5 separate regions of the Homo sapiens genome follow, and all the other regions are linked to region 1. Evidence: promoter capture Hi-C in 16 types of primary human blood cells and fetal thymus (Javierre and others, 2016). All regions are on one chromosome and are shown on one strand. The core of a region is centred on a gene start or on the middle of the fragment in contact, and the rest is flanking DNA. Distances in the headings are between cores, read along the strand shown.

Region 1 (2,700 bases), core at 155-2,654:
TGGGGTCATTGCCTCAGAAGCTCCAGAGACAACTTCCCTATTACCCCAATTTCTGGATGCCCCACCCTCAGCACACACCTGTAACTTTACATGCACTCTTTCCAAGTGCCTCCTCAGCCTCACCCTTCAGTTTTCTGGCCCTTTTCTCTCACCTCCTCTATCATCTTCCTGGCTACACACTTACCCCACTCCTCAAGCACCAAGCACCATGTCCTGCAACGTCTCTTGGCCTCTGTTCCTAATGCCCTGCCCTGAATGTGGGTCCCATCTCCTCTTCTGATATTGGGAGCTCTCAAAGTGCCCATTCCTTGGACATCCTGACCCCTCCCTTCTCACAGTCTTGTCTCATGCAAGAAAGAAATGAAGGTCCTTGATACGTTTTGGCTGTGTCCCCACCCAAATCTCAACTTGAATTAAGTCTCCCAGAATTCCCACGTGTTGTGGGAGGGACCCAGGGGGGAGGTAAATGAATCATAGGGGCCGGTCTTTCTCCTGCTATTCTCCTAATAGTGAATAAGTATCACGAGATCTGATGCGTTTATCAGGGGTTTCCGTTTTTGCTTCTGCCTCATTTTTCTCTGGCCGCCGCCATATAAGACGTGACTTTGGCCTCCCGTTATGATTCTGAGACCTCCCCAGCCATGGAGAACTGTAAGTCCAATGAAACCTCTTTTTTTTTTTCCCAGTCTCGGGTATGTCTTTATCAGCAGCATGAAAATGGGCTAATACATCCTGTTTATTGGAAGTATGTGCCAGGCACTGTTCTGAGCACTTCGTAAACATCCCAATTAAGCCTCATCGCAACCCACTGGAGTAAGACCCATTATTGTGCCCATTTTACAAATGGAAAAGGGAGGCTCGGAGAGGTTATGACCCGCCCACGCTCCCACACAGCTCGCCAGTGGCAGAGCCAGCACCACTGTGCACATGCGCCCAACGCAGGGACAGGCCAATGCCCGAGGACTCACCTTGTCGATGAAGGAGGCGAACTTGTTGTTTAGCGCCTTGATCTGCTCCCGCTCCTGGGCGCGCACCCTCTGGATCTCGGGGTCCATCTCCACGTTGAGCGGGGCCAGGAGGCTCTTGTTGACGGTGACCTGAGGGATGCCCCCGGGTGGGCACACGGAGGGACACTTGGGCCCCAGCCCGGCGCTGCCGAAGGCGGTGCCCACGAAGCCGCCCAGGCGGCCGCCGCCCCGCCGTGCAGCAGCGCTGAGCGCCAGGCTTCGGCTGCCCCCAAGGCAGGAGAGGCTCTTGCTGCCAAAGGAGGCCGAGCCCTTGACCCGGGCCCGGAATGAGGCGGAGCTGCTGCCGATCCCGCCAGAGAGGACCGCGGAGCAACCGCTGAAGCCCAGGCGCTCCCCGCGGGGGAAATGGGTCAGTTGGCGGCTCATGGCTCGCAAGTACCGGTGCTGGCCGCGCGGGAGGCAGAAGGGGCGCAAACAGCCGCTGCGTTCTCGGCCCAGCTCGCCCCTTAAATAGCCTGGCTGGCTGGAGTCAGCCTAATTTGTATGTCGACAACACCTTTTAGATCCCTTGAGGCCTCTTGGGTTCTTCATGTAGGAAATTACCATGCACTCACCGAGATTTTTGTCTGTTCCACCGTGAACTCCCCATGAATCCCTGTAAAGTGACCCAGAACCCAGCATTTACTTGGCTCACCTCCTGCATTATCATGGCTTAGCGACCTTATCTCCACCTGCTGGCCTCCAATTACTGGGGTTATCACTCCCAAGATCACCCCTGGAAACTTCCAGTGGGGCTGACCCTCTGGGTGTGTGTCTGGGGAGACGGAGGTGTGTGAAGCAGAAGTCCAGGCTGCTTCTGCTTCAGAAGGCCATGAATAGAGTCAAGACTATCGCAGAAAATCATCCTTAGCCTGTCCTCCTCCTGCCTCCCAGGCTTCTGGATGAGGACAGCTCTGTCCCTTGTGCAAGAAGGAAGTTCAGAAGGAGGAGATTTTGGCCCCGTCTGCAGAGACCTCTCAGTCTGTTGGAGAAGGCAGGACACAGAGACCTCTGGTCACAAGTGTTGAGGGTTGACTTTGGACCAGAGCGAAAAGATTTCTCCACTAAGCATTTCTGGACTAAGAATGGGGACCATGCTATCTGGGAGGGAGGGAAGAAGGCCTGGGGAGGTGGTACAGGAAGACTCAGGCATGGTTTAGCAGATGGTGTTTCCTAAGGCTTTCGGTTGTTTTCATTTTTGTTTTCTTTTAATAGCAGAAGAGGCTTATTTATCCCATCCAGCAAACCTCTGCTCAGGTCATTTGCCACCCAGTCATTTCTGATTCAGCATCAAAATGTGATCAGTTATTAGGAAGAGGTCAAGACTCTTCAGATCTAAAACCAAGAACTAGATTCTAGAACTTCATTCCCTTTAAGCTACAGAGGCTCCTTCTTCCACCTAACCCGATTTCCTTTTCTCAAACTTAAGCTGCCTTCAAGTCTCCTCCTCTCTTAGCAACAGCTCTCCTGTTCCTCTGGCATGCAGGTGGGATTATTTCATTGCTCTTATTTCTTAAGCTGCCAGAGTCCTGGGTGTGTGTTCCATTTCCTCTATCAGATTGACAGGGCCCCCTGGATTCACCCTTCCCTCCTCTGCTCCCCCAGTGCTCAGCCCAGGCCTTGGCCAAAGGGACATTTAGGATGATTGTGAAACAGCAGAGTGCTTAGGGCAAGGCTTGTTACTGCACCTTCA
Region 2 (2,730 bases), core at 222-2,721, 180 kb after region 1:
CAGAATAAAAGGGCATTTCCGTTTTAAAATAAACAAACTTCGGCCAGGCATGGTGGCTCATGCCTGTAATCCTAGCACTTTGGGAGGCCGAAGCGGGCAGATTGCCTGACTCAGGAGTTCGAGACCAGCCTGGGCAACATGGTGAAAGCCGGTCTCTACTAAAATACAAAAAAAAAAAAAATTAGCCAGGCATGGTGGCATGCACCTGTAGTCCCAGCTACTCGGGAGGCTGAGGCAGGAGAATCACTTAAACCCATGAGGTGGAGGTTGCAGTGAGCTGAGATCATGCCACTGCACTCCAGCCTGGTGGCAGAGCGAGACTCCATCTCATAAAAAAAAAAAAAAAAAACTTCTACAAATACATACTTCCCTCAAATCCACAAGGATCTCTATCCAGTTCAACTATAACCCATATCACTGTAACTAAAGATCTTCTCCCAAGGAGAGAAATGAATGAGACGACCTCTTGTTTGGCACAGCTTTCTCTGCAGTGGCACTGTGGACATTTGAGGCTGGCTGTTTATATGTTGAAGGGGGCTGGCTTGTGTGATGTGGGATGTTTAGTAGCAACCTGGCTTCTACTCTCTAGATGCCAGTAGCACTCCCCGACTTGTGACAACCAAAAATGTCACTAGACATTGCTATATGTTCCCTGGGGAGCAAAATTGCCCCCACTGAGAGTCACAGCATTAGTTCCACCTAGAGTCACCTTCTCCTGCCACCGTCTTCTCCAGTGGTTGACGGAGCTGTCACCATTCAGTCTCATCACCACAGATTCCAAAAGTATCAGATTCTCCCAGCACACCTCCATCAATGGTTCCCTAGGAGAGCCAAGTCACCTTCAGCCTTCAGCCTGGACTGGAAGTGTTGATGGGGATTAGCTCTATCTTAGGCACAACAGAGATGTGTGTTAGACAATGTGTATGCCAGAAGGGCTTGTGAAGGATGTAGTGAAGATTCAGATAAAATGTGTGAAGAAGCATTTTCAGAACTTAAGTGAGTTTTTCTCGGTCATCCCAAGATTATCTCAAGGTTCCCACACTTTTTGTCTTTGTCTTTGTCTTTGCATAGAGGGAGAATACACATGGGCTGAAGTGCTGAGAAGGCAGAGAGAAGAGGCAGTCCAAATCCCAGAAAGTGAGATCTCTGATGCTTGGCTAACAAACACTCCACCCAGTTCTAGGCAAAACAGAGAAGAGTCATGTAGAGATTTACCTGCAAATTACACAAAACGTTACATGCAAAACTTGATCATCAGCAGTCAAGTCTAGATTATCCATAGGCAAGCGCTGAACTACTTTCAAATTCTTGTGGAAAACAACCCTCTGATTTCCTTAACTGAGCCTTTCATAGGTGTGACACTGTTACCACTGATACTTGCTCTGACATGTAGCCTGTATTCTCACAAAGATATAGAAGGAAAACCTGAAATCTAAAAACACAACTTGGTCTTCCTAATGGGAAGTGAACCAGTGAGTCCGCAAGCTCTTAGAACAGGAAAACACTCTTTTGAGCATTTCTTCTGGGGAAGACAGTGTGGGGGTGGTTGGAGGGGATAGATGATGATAGATAGATAGATAGATAGATAGATAGATAGATAGATAGATAGATAGAGGCGTAGGGTAGAAGTTGGTTCCTCTATGTCCAACAATGATAGACTGGATTAAGAAAATGTGGCACATATACACCATGGAATACTATGCAGCCATAAAAAATGATGAGTTCATGTCCTTTGTAGGGACATGGATGAAATTGGAAATCATCATTCTCAGTAAACTATAGCAAGAACAAAAAACCAAACACCGCATATTCTCACTCATAGGTGGGAATTGAACAATGAGAACACATGGACACAGGAAGGGGAACATCACACTCTGGGGACTGTTGTGGGGTAGGGGAAGGAGGGAGGGATAGCATTAGGAGATATACCTAATGCCAGATGACGTGTTAGTGGGTGCAGCGCACCAGCATGGCACATGTATACATATGTAACTAACCTGCACATTGTGCACATGTACCCTAAAACTTAAAGTATAATAATAATAAAGAAAGAAAGAAAAAAAAAGAAGTTGATTCCTCTTTTTCATTGCAAGTGGATATACCTCTCCACACCCAGGAAAGAGAGATGTGGAAGAGAGAGCAAAGAAATTCTTGACCATTGGCCAAAGACCCCAAATCCCAGTTTAGGATCCAGGCTCACAAGTAGGCATTATTCAACAATCACTGTGAGCTCTTTGTGGGCAAAAGTATGCCTTAGAGGACAGGAAAAGCATGGACAACACAGGACTCACTATGTACTAGAAGAATGAAAAGTCTAGTCAAGTACAAGAAAGCAAACTCAAGCCCAGTGACTTAAGAGCTCTTGAAAAGTCAACATAGAATTGTGCAAAAAAACTATGCAAATGCTAAGGCAAAGGAAAAGAAGGAGCACTGAGAAGCAGGTGAAGTTCCCTGCAAGGGGTTTTCAGCCTGGATTAGAAACAGTCAGGGCCTGGCAGGGCGCGGTGGCTCATGCCTGTAATCCCAGCACTTTGCGAGGCAGAGGCGGGCGGATCACCTGAGGTCAGGAGTTAGAAACCACCCTGGCCAGCATGGCAATCTCTACTAAAAATGCAAAAATTAGCTGGGCTTGGTGGCTTGCACCTATAATCTCAGCTACTCAGGAGGTTGAGGCACAAGAATCACTTGAGCCCAGGAGGGAGAAGTTGCAGTGAGCCAAGATAGTGCCAC
Region 3 (2,700 bases), core at 98-2,597, 200 kb after region 1:
TCATGGTTCCTGCCCATAAATAATTTATAGACTAGTGGTTTGTTGAGTAAATGAGTGAATGGCTGGGTGGATGGATGGATGAATAGATGGATGATGGATGGATCATAGATGGATGGATGGATGGATGGATGGATGGACGGATGGATGAGTAGATGGATGAATGGGTGGATGGCAAATGACAGTCCAAACACTTTCTCCAGAAAATGTCTTCCCAGCTTATCTAGCTTCTCACCCACTTTCTCGAATTTTTAAGGATCAAATCCACAACACTCAAAGTAAAAAAACTGCAGATGCAGAACAATCCTACCTTGACCCAAAGCCAAACCAGAAAACCATGGGCAGCAATGAGCCTGAGTCCTGGGGCTCCCACCACCAAGACCCTTCATGGCCACAACTCTACACTCCCAGCCCTCTTAGTGGAATAACGAGATGACTGTTCAGACCCTACCATCAACACGGGAAAAAAAATGGAACAGGTGCTAAAATGGCTTTTTTCCTTTCAGCCTGCTCCCTCCCTTTGTCCCTCGTTGGCCCACTGTTACCATGTCCTGAGGGCCCACAAAGGGGGCACAGCCCCCTCAACTATTTCCCCACGTAGCTGTCTCACTAAACCCTGAACATCCACCCAAGACATGGGAGCAGCCATGCCTTATTCTGAGGTCCTCTGGTCTTAGAACACAAAGCCTGGGCCCCGTCAGCAAGTTAAAACAAAACCCCACAGTGGGACATGAAATAAGCCCCTCTTTGCTATAACCTTCTGGGTTTACTAGCAACGAGGTAGGGAGACTTCAGAAGTATTGGTGAGAACTTTCTGGAACTGAGAGGGCTGAACCCAGAGCGGAGGGTCTTGGTGAGGTGGGAGGGATCTATGCAAACATAGCAGTTGTTCAGGAGTTGACAGGTGCCTGAGCCAAAGTGATGGTGGGGCTGCAGCCAGGGCTGGGAGCCAAGATCTTGGGGAATGGAGTCAGGGCAGATGAGCCAAATAAACCAAGTTAGAGATTTGCCAACCTGCAGTTGGGCTCTTCAGATGTGAAAAGTGATTTCCGTATACTTAGAGGTAAAGGATTTAAAAGAAAAGGGAGAGCATGGGGCCTCCAACGGGGTAAATAATGCAAGCCATGTCTCCCTGTTTCCTAAGCACTAGGAGCTGGCCAGAATCCAATTCGAAGGATCAGAGAGAAGGGTGGTGTCTATTATCTCAGCAGTATATTTACCCCAAATAATCCCCTCTGACTAGCCAGCCAGTTTCAAACATATGAATCAAGGCCAGGATCCACTCTCCTGGACTGTTCTAGAAACAGAGACCAACATGAGGGCTTTTCCTTTTTATGTAAAATAGAAGACTTTTTTTTGAGACAGAGTCTCACTCTGTCGCCAGGCTGGAGTGCAGTGGTGTGATCTCGGCTCACTGCAACCTCTGCTTCCTGGGTTCAAGGGATTCTCCTGCCTCAGCCTCCCGAGTAGCTGGGATTATAGGCGCCTGCCACCACACCAGGCTAATTTTTGTATTTTTAATAGAGACGAGATTTCACCATGTTGGCCAGGATGGTCTCGATCTGTTGACCTCATGATCCGCCCCCCTTGGCCTCCCAAAATGCTGGGATTACAGGTGTGAGCCACCGTGCCCGACCTAAGAGACTTTTTATATAAATAAGAAACGCTGACACACTCACATAGCCATGTGCCTATGAATACAAACACATTTATTCTAAGATGCACATACACGCGTATAATCTACGGCCTGACCTTGCAGTGTAAATCACTGAGTTCAACCAAAGAGATGCTGAGAGGCACGGAGGGCTGCTCAGGCTGGCTGCTCCCACACTCAGGGGGCATGAGAAATGCTTTAACCTGCCCCTTGCCTCTCTGTGAGGCCCAACACAACCTGCAGCCTCCTGGTGGGTGAACCTGAGAAGCTCCACCCCTAGTTCCAACCTTTAACTCCTCCTCACCACTCCCAGAAACTCAAAAAAAAAAAAAAAAAAGAGCCCATCTGCATTTTGCCAGGGGAGGAGTGCAGCCCTTGGAAGAAGCCAAAGCCACCAAATGCAGCTGCAGAGACTTCCTGTTCTGACACATGGGGCTCAATGAGCCCTAAGACAATGGGGATATTAGGGCCAGGCTGATGAAGGACAGAGCCCAGGTTGCTCCTGGCAAAGTCCCCTGCCCAGAGAGCACAAGCCCCTGAGATTAACCCTTTGCTACTCTGTCCCCGCTTTCCCAAAGGCAGAACAACCCTGAGCCTACCTTGGATCTGCACGAGACTCCCATGGGCAAGGACTGGTCTTGGGCAAACGACGTGCCTTTCTGCCTGCACACCATGAGGCCCCATGGACACAGGGCTGGAGGAACTGGAGTCTGAATGAACTCTGCGGCAGTCAAGGGTGGGAGGCACAGTAGGGTGGCCAAGGCAGAGAGTGCATTCTGCATCTGCAGCAAACTGATTCGAGTCAGACTGCAGAGCAGGAGCTGGGAAATCTTTGGAAGAGGGGAGACTGTGCTGCTCCAGGTACTTGGAATTGGTCCAATATAGAAAAAGGGTGTCCCCAAATCTACCCAGACCCCCACCTCTGACTGTCCTCTCCCCGCTTCTGTAATTAGACAGCTCCCTCCACTCCTGCTCCAGAAGACCTGCTCCACCTCCAACATTCTTCGCCACTCAGGGACAGCACCACAGACATAACCCCAGGCACCCCT
Region 4 (2,708 bases), core at 140-2,639, 230 kb before region 1:
CAGGAAGACTTCCTGGATTTGTCCAAAGACAGGAGGGTGCTGACACCTTCCCCATCCTGCACTGTCTGTCCTCCCAGTTTTGTGTTTGTGCCTGCCTGGGCTCTTGTGGGTTGTCTTCCCATCCCTCCTAGTGGGCTGGTCCCCCTCAGTCAGTCCTGATGGGCTCCCCATGGACAAGGCCTGCACAGCTGATTCAAACTGGGTACCGCCCTTTGCCTCTGCTGGCCACACTTTTATTATGCATCTAAGGCTACGCCACTGCCGCTGCTGAGACGCAGCTCTTGGAGGCTCTTCTTAGCCCTCTTTCCCTCTCTTTGACTTTCACAAGACTTGGGCATGATTCAGGGACCCTAAGTGAGAGAAAGGAGGGTCAGAGCAACTCTACGTTCTCCAGTGTGTCATGGCGGGGTTCCGTGCCCAGCTGACACAGCTGCTCCCTGGCCTGCTCCACGGCAACTCCAAGAAACTCCATTCTCCTCCCGAACTCTGTCCACGTGCCTTCCTATTGGCAGCATTCCCTGGTGCTTTGCTGTTTTCCATGGTTACTCGGGATCAGAGCAGTGGCTCAGTCGTTACAGAGCCTCTGATTTCAGGAATGTACTGCATGAATGGTTTTGAAATGTTTTCTTTCTTTTCTTTTTGGCAGTTGAGCCATCTCCCCAAATCCTAGGAGGAAAACAGCTATATAAAGCCATGTATTTACTTATGTAGTTATAGAATAGATAAGATTGACATGCTGGTCTCCCTGTTTGCCCCTGGCCCTCCAACTCCATTCTCAGCCGAGGAGAGTAAGCCCCGTAAAACATAAGTTGGATCATGTCTCTACCCTGCTCAAACACCCAATTCCCCATTTTGCTTGGAGTCCTAACAATGGCCAACAAGGCCCTGCACTGCCTGTCTGTGTTGTGGCCTTTGTCACCGGTCTCCCTGTGTTCAGCAACCACAGTGACCTCCCACTGGAGCACCAGGACAGGGTGCACTCCTGACTCAGGGCCTGTGCCCTGCTGTCTCTTCCACCCAAATGCTCCCCTGTCATCCAAGTGGCTTGCCCATTGCCTCCTGCAGGGCTTTGCCCCTATACCATCTCTCTGACCCTTTAAAAAAATGGCAACCTGCCCTCCACCCCAGGGCACTCTCCATCCAGCTTATCTTGCTCTTATTTATTTATTTTTCCATCACACTTAACACAGTCCAGAATTTACTTATTTATTCTATTTGTGGATTATTGTCTGTTTTTCCCATCACCCCAAAGTAAACTCCATGGAAGCAGAGATTTTGTCTGTTTTGTTCATTTTGTTCACCTAGAAAAGTGCTGGGAATATAGTAAGTGCTCAGTAAATATTGTTGACTGATGAATGTATAAATGAATGGCTATCTTGGATACTTTAGATATTTGAGGTTTGGCAGAAAATGACAGCTTGTGGGAAGCCTTGGCCCTTGAGCCCCGAGGAACACATGCAGTTTGAAAGCCATGGGACTAAGACCCCTCCCTGGCTCTTTCCTGCTTCAAGGCTGTGGTTTTCTGAATACCCATGGAGACAAAGAACACAGAACGGTGAAAACGGCTGGGTTGGGCTGGTGAGAAAGGAGATAGATTTATTTTTAAAAGCTGTTACTTATTGTTTTTATGTTTGTGTCCTAATTACAAATCTGGAGAAAAACAAAATGGTTTTACAAGACTCTAAGCTCCCTCCTCTCCTTGCTATATTGCACAAGCCAATCCTGCTGGTAGCCTGCTTTGAAAATCTCCTACGCCTTCTTGTCCGAAGTTGGTGGCCAGAAGAGGGCAGCAAATTCCCACAGCTGGCCTGGCAGCAGTTCAGTCGTGGCAGAAGCAGAGAAGGCCAGGGATCTGCCTGCAGCTGGCTCTGGTTTCCAGATCTTTGGAAGCTGGAGACAGTCCCTGACGCTTCTGCATCCACCTGTGGTTGGTACTGGAGTGGCTGAGCTGCTGACAAAGCTATTGTTCATTGACAAAAGAGAAACACCACCACCACCACCACTACTGAAGCAATTGTGTACCCACTGTGGGCCAGGTTGAGTGCCAAGCACCTTGGATTACCATTGCATGTCATCCCCACATCTCTTTGAGGTACGACATATTTTTCCATTTTACAAATGAGGCAAGAGGCGTATTGAGATTACGTGACAGGCAGAACAGCACAGTGGTGGTGAGCATGGGCTCAGGAGTCAGAGCTCCTGTGCCTCACCACTTATTTAACCTCTCTGGGCCTCAGTTTTGTCATCTGTCAAATGGGAAATAATAAAAGCACCTACCACCTAAGGATATTGAAAGAATAAAATGAGTTAACCTGTGAGAATTATTTGGAACACTACTCAGTTCAACATATGTTAGGTATTATTGTTACCTCTCATTACCTTTGGTCACGCAGCCAGTAAGTGGAAGACCTGGGATTGAACTCAGGTCTGCCTGTGCCCTTGTCCATGGGTTTGACCCCTATGTCATCTCTGGGAGATAACTGACATATTAATAATATTGAGTCTTCCAGCTCATTAACACAGTATATCTTTCTATTTATTTAAGTTTTCTTTGATTTCTTTCATTAATGTTTTGTAGTTTTCAGCATACAGATCCTCATATACTTTTTAAAGGTTTATGCCTAAGTATTTATCCTTTGGAATTAAATGGTACTATTGGAAATGATATTTCAACAATTTTTTAATTTCCATTGCTGGTGTATAGAAAT
Region 5 (2,700 bases), core at 2-2,501, 220 kb after region 1:
CATCACTCAAGCTGGCAACTTTAACCTTCCCTCCCATCCTACTGCAGGACCAAGGAGAAAACCTGAGTAGATTTGAGCGCTTCCCAAGATGCAAATAGTCTGGTATGAAAATACCCTGGGTCTGAGGTCCCCTGGCTGTTCCTGCTCCTGAGAAGTGACTGGAAAGGACAGCAGAGGTGGGGTGAGGAGGGCAGGGACAGGATTGCAGGGGCCCTTGCAGGGCTCAGCAGCTAATACCTCTGGCTGGACGTCTTGACCGTAGTGGTCTTCCGCAGGATGGAGGTGCCCGCAGAGACTGGCCCTCCCTTGACGGTGCTATAGCCCACATTTGTGCTGAATCCACCCTTGGTGGCCCCCCCACTCCCACCCAGGGAGATGCCACCTCCAAAGCTGGCTGCGCCACCTCCGCACACAGTGGTGGAGTTGCCAGTCACAGCTGCAAAGCAAAGGGTCTGGATTAGTCAGGGCGGCCATGCCAGAGAGGGCTGGGGGAGACCCAGAAATCAGTGGGGAATCAGAACAAAATCAAGCAGCAGAGCTATGGGAAATGGATAGAGAAGCCCAGAACTAGGACCCTCTGAACCTGTCTCCAGGGGCTCGAATGGAGGAGAGCATGCTTTAGGACAGGTACAGGTTGCATAAACTGAGCAGAGTTCTGGGGCCTGGCCAGGGGTGGAGCAGGAAGTGGGGAGTAAATACTCACAAATGCTGACTGCACTGGGACATTCTCCAGACATCCTAGGGGACACAGAAAGGCCAGGAGAGCAGTCAGTTATCCCTGGTGCCCACATGAAAACCCTCTCCTTCCCTCTGCCTTTACATTGGATCCACTCAGTGAATCCTGATGACAAGACCAGGAAACATGAGAAGTATGTGTATAGGGCTGTGCCCAGGTCCAAAAGCCAGTGCTGCAGAAAGGGCAGAGCCACCAGTAGGCTGTGCCAACTCCCATCCTCCCCTTTTCTTTCCTCTCTGCCCATGTGGGCTACGGACAGCATCCCTGCCCCAATGGAAACAAGCCCACGACCAGACAGAGCTGCCTAGTTTCTGCCCACTTTCTATTTCATGCTTTTCCTAAGGACAGAGATGGTGGATTTTTTTTTCCAAAGCTTCCACTGCTGGTGAAATCTGCTGGTGGAAGAGGAAGTTCCATTCCTACCGGGCTGTCAGCCACAGTAAAGATTAACAAGAGTTGTGCCAACCAAGGAGAGGAGTGATGGAGGCAGTGGGCACAAGCAGATTTTCCCCCCGCGTGAGTCAGGATCTTGCTCCCTGGTTCCTCTCTCCCTCTCTTGACCCCGGAGCAGACTCCCTGGGCTCTCCCCCAGGGCAGGCCCGACCCAGCTTTCTGGGTCGGGCAGGAGGGGCCACCACCTGCTCTCCTCGCTCTCCAGAAGCTTGCGGTAGGTGGCAATCTCCACGTCCAGGGCCAGCTTGACATTCATCAGCTCCTGGTAGTCACGCAGCAGCCGTGTCAGGTCCTCCTTGGCCTGGTGCAGGGCCACATCCAGATCCCCAAGCTTCTTCTGAGCATCCTTGAGTGCCAGCTCCCCACGCTGCTCCGCTTCCGCAATGGCCGTCTGCAGCTGCTGACACTGCCCAGGGGAGAAAGGTGTTGGAAGCACCCTCCGGGGTCATCCCATTCATCTCTCTGCCCTCAAGCCATGGAGACATCATCATTCCCACATCCCTGCCCCCAACCAGCTGGGAAAGAGAGAAGAGAAATATTCATCTGAAGAGATGCTATTACACAAGCAGGATCAAGTAAGGCCACTGGGAAAGTCCTTACTGAAGTCTAACCTCAACCCCTCCTGCTGCAGATCAGCCCAATGCCTCAGAAGAGATGAAATAAATAACACAGCCTTATTAGTAACCAGGTGCTTCATTCTAATCTGTGAAAGAACCCACACTTTTTAGCCGTTCTAAAGGTGGAGTCGGCATCAGCATCTGTGACCTGGCCCCTTGAACCCTCTACCTCCTGTTCTGACTTCCTGGAGATGGGATGGATCAGTTTCCTTGGAGAAGGTTGTCCCACCTGCTCTACCACTCATATACCATGTGACGTTGGACAAGCTCCTTCCTGCTCTGTGCCTCAGTTTCCCCCCATGTAAAAGGAGCCTGTGATCAATGGCCTAGCATTCTATTGTGTCCGTCAGGAGAAGAGCAGGCCTAGCCCCTCGGGGTGACAATGAGAAGGCCCTGCCAACACCTAGGCCAGACCCCCAAGCCCCCAGTAGAGTCCCACCTGCTTCTTGGCTGCATCAGCCTCCCCCTGCAGCCTCTGGATAGTGCGGGTGAGCTCAGCAATCTCGTTCTTGGTGTCCCGCAGGTTGTCCCCATGCTTCCCAGCAGTCACCTGCAGCTCCTCATACTGGGGACCAAAGAAGTGGCAGTGCGCTTTCAAATGGCCCCAGCCCACCCTCACAGCTGGAGGCCCCATGCAAGTTGAGTATATCTGGCCCCCCGGACTCCAAGGGTCCCAGAGGCCCAAGCCTCTCACGATGGGAGATCTGATCCGACCCCAGGCCTCACACCTGAGCCAGCTATGCCTCTCACCTTGGTCTGGTACCAGGCCTCGGCCTCAGCCCGGCTCCTCTGGGCAATCAGCTCATACTGGGCCTTGACCTCGGCGATGATGCTGTCCAGGTCCAGGTTGCGGTTGTTGTCCATGGACAGCACCACATTGGTGTTAGACACGTG

What was found. The method cuts DNA at HindIII sites, captures the fragments that hold promoters and counts their contacts. A CHiCAGO score of 5 or more calls a contact.
Region 2: a fragment that was not itself captured here is called in contact with the fragment with the promoter of KRT72 in region 1 in 3 of 17 cell types (total CD4 T cells, M2 macrophages and total CD8 T cells); the score reaches 5.6 in total CD4 T cells.
Region 3: a fragment that was not itself captured here is called in contact with the fragment with the promoter of KRT72 in region 1 in 9 of 17 cell types (total CD8 T cells, M2 macrophages, naive CD8 T cells and 6 more); the score reaches 7.6 in total CD8 T cells.
Region 4: a contact is called between a fragment that was not itself captured here and the fragment with the promoter of KRT72 in region 1, in 2 of 17 cell types (M0 macrophages and M2 macrophages). The highest score is 5.6, in M0 macrophages.
Region 5: a fragment that was not itself captured here is called in contact with the fragment with the promoter of KRT72 in region 1 in 1 of 17 cell types (total CD8 T cells); the score reaches 6.6 in total CD8 T cells.

What each region holds. Positions count from the first base shown.
Region 1 is chr12:52,600,059-52,602,758 of GRCh38, forward strand. It overlaps KRT72 (keratin 72), which reads right to left and starts at 1,405. Exons shown (of 9, transcript NM_080747.3): 1 at 969-1,405. The coding sequence starts at 1,394. The HindIII fragment of the contact is 8,078 bases long and covers 1-2,700 here.
Region 2 is chr12:52,784,410-52,787,139 of GRCh38, forward strand. No RefSeq gene overlaps it. Among named protein-coding and RNA genes, the nearest start is that of KRT76, 8.4 kb to the left of the region's middle. The HindIII fragment of the contact is 6,807 bases long and covers 1-2,730 here.
Region 3 is chr12:52,803,238-52,805,937 of GRCh38, forward strand. No RefSeq gene overlaps it. Among named protein-coding and RNA genes, the nearest start is that of KRT3, 8.5 kb to the left of the region's middle. The HindIII fragment of the contact is 4,113 bases long and covers 1-2,700 here.
Region 4 is chr12:52,370,954-52,373,661 of GRCh38, forward strand. No RefSeq gene overlaps it. Among named protein-coding and RNA genes, the nearest start is that of KRT85, 4.8 kb to the left of the region's middle. RefSeq lists an enhancer at 1,741-1,910 and a cis regulatory region at 1,826. The HindIII fragment of the contact is 4,826 bases long and covers 1-2,708 here.
Region 5 is chr12:52,821,642-52,824,341 of GRCh38, forward strand. KRT79 (keratin 79) reads right to left here. Exons shown (of 9, transcript NM_175834.3): 5 at 2,557-2,700; 6 at 2,246-2,371; 7 at 1,375-1,595; 8 at 704-738; 9 at 1-436. The coding sequence ends at 231. Among named protein-coding and RNA genes, the nearest start is that of KRT4, 8.9 kb to the left of the region's middle. The HindIII fragment of the contact is 288 bases long and covers 1,108-1,395 here.